Regions from separate parts of the Homo sapiens genome. Here region 1 is linked to region 2. Evidence: promoter capture Hi-C in 16 types of primary human blood cells and fetal thymus (Javierre and others, 2016). All regions are on one chromosome and are shown on one strand. The core of a region is centred on a gene start or on the middle of the fragment in contact, and the rest is flanking DNA. Distances in the headings are between cores, read along the strand shown.

Region 1 (3,138 bases), core at 201-2,700, 290 kb after region 2:
TTTCTGGGATGTCTATATCCAATAGGTCATGATGTGAAGTTCCTCGCCGTGGCTCACTGTCAAAGTCTGAAAGCCGCTGCGGAAGTGGCTCAACGCATGGCAGGCACAGGGGCTCCATGGGGTAAGTAGCCCACAGGACAGCCACTAGGAATGTGGTCCCTCCCTGCATACATGTGCTGTCTCCTGTTGAGTGGGCGAATCTGTTCCTCCATCCTTGAGTTGGGGCAGCTGTGCTCAACAGAAATGCAGCAGAAACCACACCACCTGACTTCTGGGTTAGGTGAGAAGGAACCTCGCAGTTCCTCCTGGATCTCTTGTAATGTCTGCCGCGGGTGAAACCAGCTGCCACGTTAGGAATCTGCACCAAGACCACCATGTTATGAGGAAGCTCAAGCCAGCCACGTGGAGAGGCTGCACGGATGGAGAAACAGCTGCACGGCCAGCCCCAGGGAGTGATGTGAGAGTGAAGGAGCCTCTAGGATGTGCCAGGCTCAGCTGCCACCTGACTTTTCAAATAGGAGGAACCCCCAGTGAGAACTCAGCTGAGCCAGATGACTCCTAAATCCATGAAAGATGATTTCAAATCATATTTTTAAGTTTTGGGGTGGTTTGTTATGTAGCAATAGGTGATCTTGTGACTATGTAACCCTGGGAAAGTTACTTCATTTCTCTGTTTTTTAATCTAAAAACTGGGAATCATGGGAGTTCCTACTGGAAAATGAGTTAACATATAGAAGTATAGAACCACATATGAGTTAACAAAGACATGGCTGTGATGCCTGGGACTCATTTGGAAAACATGAGTTATCACTTTAAAATGCTTCACTGAGTTTAGAGGCAATATACTATGATTACTGAACCCAGGGACACTACAGATTCTTCCTTCTCAGAGCTTTGATGAGAGGAAAGAGGCAGATTCCACCTTACCTTCAGGTTTGCCAAGATCCTTCCCCAACGTACAAGTGAAAGGGAGCTCAGGAAGGCAGAATGAAGGGACACATCAAATCCTTGGTGACAAAGTTTAGGACAGGCTGGGCACAGTGGCTCACGCCTATAGTCCAAGCATTTTGGGAGGCCAAGGCAGGCTGATCACCTGAGGTCAGGAGTTCTAGACCAGCCTGGCCAAACCTGTCTCTACTAAAAATACAAAAATTAGCTGGGCGTGGTGGTGGCCGCCTGTAGTCCCAGCTACTCAGGAGGCTGAAGCAGGAGAATCGCTTGAACCCGGGAAGCGGAGGTTGCAGTGAGCCAGGATCCCACCACTGCACCCCAGCTTGGGCGACAGAGCGAGACTCCGTCTCAACAACTATGACAACAACAAACAGTTTGGGACAGAGAAAAATCCCTGTAAACTTCAAGCCTTTTGGGGTGCTCTTGGGTGAACTCCTAAATTGCTCAAGGGCTAACTTCCTCATTTATTATTAAAAGAAAAAAGAAAAAGGCAGAGGCCAGTGGTGAAGGCTGGCGATTTCTGGTCTAGGGTGAGAGATAACAGAAAGTAACAATGGAGGCTCTCGCAGTGCTCGCAGGCACTCAAGGAACGGAAAGGAAATTGCACATTTCACCCGTGACTGCATAGGCAAACGAGAACAGCAAGTCTCTGCTTTCAGCTGGAATGTTATCAACTTCGGTCACGCTGATTATCTCAGGCTGATCAGGAAGGCTGGTACCAGGAGTGAGTGACTAAATGAAGAAATTACTAATTAACAAATGCTTGGGTGGACAATCCTTCAAAATTTAGGATCAATGGGAGGAGACAGAAGGAGTCTTGGGAGGATTTTTAAAATATGCCAGAGCTGGCTGGGTACAGTGGCTCACACCTGTAACCTGAGGACTTTGAGGTGGAGACGGGCAGACCACCTGAGCTCAGGAGCTCAAGACCAGCCTGGGCAACATGGCAAAACCCTGTCTCTACTAACACTATAAAAAGTTAGCTGGGCGTGTTGGTGCATGCTGTAGTCCCAGCTACTCAGGAGGCTGAGCCACGAGAATCGCTTGAACCTGGGAGATGGAGGTTGAAGTGAGCCAAGATCGCACCATTGCACTCCAGCCTGGGGAAAAAAAAAAGCCAGGCCTCCTAATGTACTCATTTAAACATCACTTGTGTCCACCTGGGTTCAGAATTGCGCTGGACATGGGATACACAAAGGTAAGACATGGACCCACCCTCAAGTCTGAAGGTGGAGGTGGGGAAGGGCAGAGGCTGTAAAGGGTCAGAGGGACCTTGTGGAGTGGTGGAAATGTTCCAGATCACACTGTGGCGGTGGTCACATGACTGTGCACACTTACGACAACCCATCTAATTGTATACTGTCAGTCAAAGGGCATTATATGTAAATCACACCTCAATAAAGCTGACCAAAAAGTGGCCAGTCAGCCACCAGCAGACCCATGGGATAGGGGAAGAAAAACAAGCAATCTACAGAACGTGGGAAAATGCCTATATTAAGAATCCTGGAATACTCCATGTGCTTTTTCATGCAGCGGGAGTGGAATTTTCAGGAAGCAGCTGTGCTGTGGGTGACGGTCATACTTTATTCTCTAAAACTCTCCAGTTTCAATTGGCCTCTTGGTGCCAAAGCACCATGGCGTGTTACACCTATCAGATCGGGCACACTGCCCCTTCTTCCCAACCTACGAGCTGAAATGGCCAGCACTGCGCCTTCCAGAACCCAGCGTAGATGCACAGCTGCCACGGAGGTAGGAAGAATGATTCGTTTGCCACCAAAAGCCCAGTTTCTCCAACAGGTAAGTCCCAGCAGGGTGCGATGTCCCAAACCTACACAACCGTTTCCACTGCCTATTCCCGGGCCCCTCACTTGGGTCAAGGCAGCATTTCAGAGGAAGCCAGGAGCGAGAACTCGTGCATCCGAACCCTTCTCTGACTTGGCGGGTTATTGGATTAGCTACTCTCAGAAGACCCAAAAGGCATAGGGGAGAGAAGAGATAAATCTGGATGCGGTGGAGACAACGGCCAAACAGAAAAACCGCTTGGAGAATAAAAGTCGGGGGAAGCCTGTAGTGGGGACGCTAGACTCAAGGGAAGGCTCTGGAGGAAGGAAGAGGCTAAAGGCATAGTTTCGTAACCCCTCCCTACAAACTACCCCCTTTCCCTCTGCCCAAGTGAGCACAGGGACC
Region 2 (2,866 bases), core at 263-2,762:
GGCTTAATGTATTTAATCAAGAGAACATTCTAAGAAAGGTGTGGAGGCTTTTTATGTGGCTCTACCCCCAGAATATAGGACAAACAGCTCAGCATCACAAAATACCACAATCTAGAAACACAGGTACTCAAATTTCTCTGGTACAGCACCACCATTTGCAAGCAAACATGCCAGTAAGCTCCCAGAAGTGAGCATGCTGAGTAATTCTCAAAAGGGTGGCTTACTAGAAGAAACCTGCTGGCAAAACCTAATCTCCTTCCCCTAAAAAAGACCCCACATACTACAAAATATCCTGGCTCATAATACACTTTAAAATCAAATGCGGCTGGGCATGGTGGCTCACGCCTATAATCCCAGCACTTTGGGAGGCCAAGGTGGGAGGACCACCTGAGGTCAGGCGTTTGAGACAAGCCTGACGTTTGGCCAAGTGGTGAAACCCGTCTCTACTAAAAATACAAAATTAGCCGGGCATAGTGGTGCACGCCTGTAGTGCCAGCTACTCTGGAGGCTGAGGCAGGAGAATCGCTTGAGTCCGGGGCGTGGAGGATGCAGTGAGCCGAGATCGCGCCATTGCACTCCAGCCTGGGTCACAAGAGCGAAACTCCGTCTCGGAAAAAAAAAAAAAAAAAAATCAAATACAAGATTGGGAGCAACTTAACCTCTCCAAAATCGTTTAATATGACTACGCTTGAAAATAAATATGGAGAAGTGGGGTAGGTTGCAGAAATATGAAATACTGAAGACAGAAAATAGGGACTAAAAGTGACCCTGTATCCCACCGGAGACTAAGTTAGCACAGTATTTAACAAGCAACAGTTTGTGAGGACAAGGCTAAGGGGTGGCCTGTCACATCTCCGTCCTCAGGAGGACGCTGAATAGAGGGAAGATAAAACAGAATGGATTTCAACTGGACATAAGGAACTTCTGTAGCCAAAAAAAAAAAAAAAAAAGTGATAAAACTAGCCCTGCTCACCAAAGACTAGAGCTACCATTTCGACATTTGAAAAGGGTAAATCAGTCAAGATCTTTAGGTCATTCTCTTGGGTTGAAATCAGGTAGCCGAGGTACTTGTTGCCTATAACGTGATTATTCAGGGACTACTATTTCCAAATAGTTGCCAATAAGTACTTACTTGACTGACTAGGGAAGGCTCACCCAAGAGCCAGAACACCTCGCGGTCCCAACTCCTCAAAATGCAGAGGAGGAAATCAAGAGAACAGAGACAAGAGCATGGATTCAGGCTGCCAATAAAGGCTGGATCCCAGGTTCCATGTTGATATTTGAACAATTAGTGACTTTGAACCCCTCCATTTGATTCATGGTTACTTCCTGGCTGCAGCTGTTAAAGCTGCCACCTATGCATCCCCTCGGATTCAGCACCGCATCGCACAAGAGTTCCCCTACGACTCTAGGCACCCCGCATCTCTAGCCAAGCTTCTTTCAGCCCTTAATTTCCCCCCGGCTCTCGACGGAGAGGTGGTAAAAGGATGAGTAAGCATGCAGTGGCTGATCTTGGTCAAAGAGCACAGACCCTGGCACAGGCGGTGGAAAGCGCAGTTGGGGAGTGCATCCAGTGAGCGGCAGGCAGGTACAAGCTTCCCATGACAGATAGTCACCCCGTTCCGCAATCACGGGAGCCTCGGAACCCTCGCTTTCACCTCCCCATCCCCTCAACTGTGGCCCGGTGCACGCCTTCTATAGACAGTTACTTCAAAACAGCCCGAAAAGATGAACTAATTTCTCCAGGCTTCCGGATGTCGGGAGACAATACAGCCTCACCCTGAAGCGTGTCTAAGTTCAATCGCTCTGGTTTCACACAGGCCAGAAAACCGCTCGTTCTGTAACACCCCGTCCGCCCCCCAACCCGACCCTAAGCCACCTTATTCAGCAATAAGGCGACTGCTAGGAACTGTTTCAAATGTATGTCAACCTTTTGGGGGAAGAAAAAGAAAACAAAAAGACTTTGGAATTACTTCAACAGCCTGGTTGCAAGTACCTGACCTTATTCCTTCCCGAACAAAAATAGGGCACCGAGAGATCAGACATTCCTTTTTCTCTGTCTTCCTACCCAGGCCGCCAGCAGCATCTCGAGGGCCTCCAGAGGGACCTCTTTTGGGGGATCGCCTAGGTTTCCTATGCAGAAAACTTGCGTTCAGTGCCCAAACGTCCTCTAAATCCCTAGTTTTCTTTACAAGGGTAAACTTCACCACAGATGGAATGAAGCCGAGGCGCTGCTTCCTTTGTTAAAATCCCACGGACTTTCTTTTCCTTACATCGGGGGCGGGGTGGGGGAGACCGCCAGCCCCGGTCACGCGCGCCCGCGGCGAAGGCGGGGAGGCAGGTGTGACTCCCTCGCGGCAGCCTCTAGCGCGGCTCCCCGGCGCCGCCTCACTTCCCCAGACGAGACCCGGACTCCTCGGCGGCCGACGGCCCCCGCCCCGCGCCTCCCACGCCCTCCGCCCGGCCGCCACCTGCCCGCCCGGCCCGCGGAGGGCGCCCAGCTACCGCGGCTCCTCCACCGGCGCGGACGCCGCCCCGACCGCCACCACCTCCGCTCAGAATGGTGGTTACGAAACGCGCGGCCCCCGCCCGCCCCGCCACATGGCCGCGCCGGCTCCAAACTTCGCAGGCCCGGCCGCGACCCGGCTCCCAGGCGAGGCCCCGGCGGCGCGAGGAGGCCGCGCGGCCACCGGCCACTCACCCACAGACCGGTAGCCCAGGATCGCGATCTTCCGGGACTTGGACTGCGGCATCTTGGCGGCCTCCTCAGCCCCGGCCCAACCACATCAACCGCGGCGGCGGTGGCTCCTGCTGCTGTGATCGGCGGCGGCCGCGCCGGGAGAGAGCGGCATACAGAGCAGGGGCG

The links. Contacts are between HindIII fragments. The CHiCAGO score rates a contact against its expected background, and 5 or more counts as called.
Region 1: the fragment with the promoter of PRKAG2-AS2 here is called in contact with a fragment that was not itself captured in region 2 in 1 of 17 cell types (M1 macrophages); the score reaches 6.9 in M1 macrophages.

The regions. Positions count from the first base shown.
Region 1 is chr7:151,804,888-151,808,025 of GRCh38, forward strand. PRKAG2-AS2 (PRKAG2 antisense RNA 2) reads left to right here and starts at 1,451. Exons shown (of 3, transcript NR_171033.1): 1 at 1,451-2,149; 2 at 2,485-2,748. The region is part of intron 1 of PRKAG2 (protein kinase AMP-activated non-catalytic subunit gamma 2); the gene reads right to left. The HindIII fragment of the contact is 22,647 bases long and covers 1-3,138 here.
Region 2 is chr7:151,516,759-151,519,624 of GRCh38, forward strand. RHEB (Ras homolog, mTORC1 binding) reads right to left here. Exons shown (of 8, transcript NM_005614.4): 1 at 2,702-2,866. The coding sequence starts at 2,753. Among named protein-coding and RNA genes, the nearest start is that of RHEB, 1.7 kb to the right of the region's middle. RefSeq lists an enhancer at 1,268-1,317 and silencers at 2,348-2,457, 2,388-2,817, 2,528-2,647, 2,818-2,866. The HindIII fragment of the contact is 161 bases long and covers 1,433-1,593 here.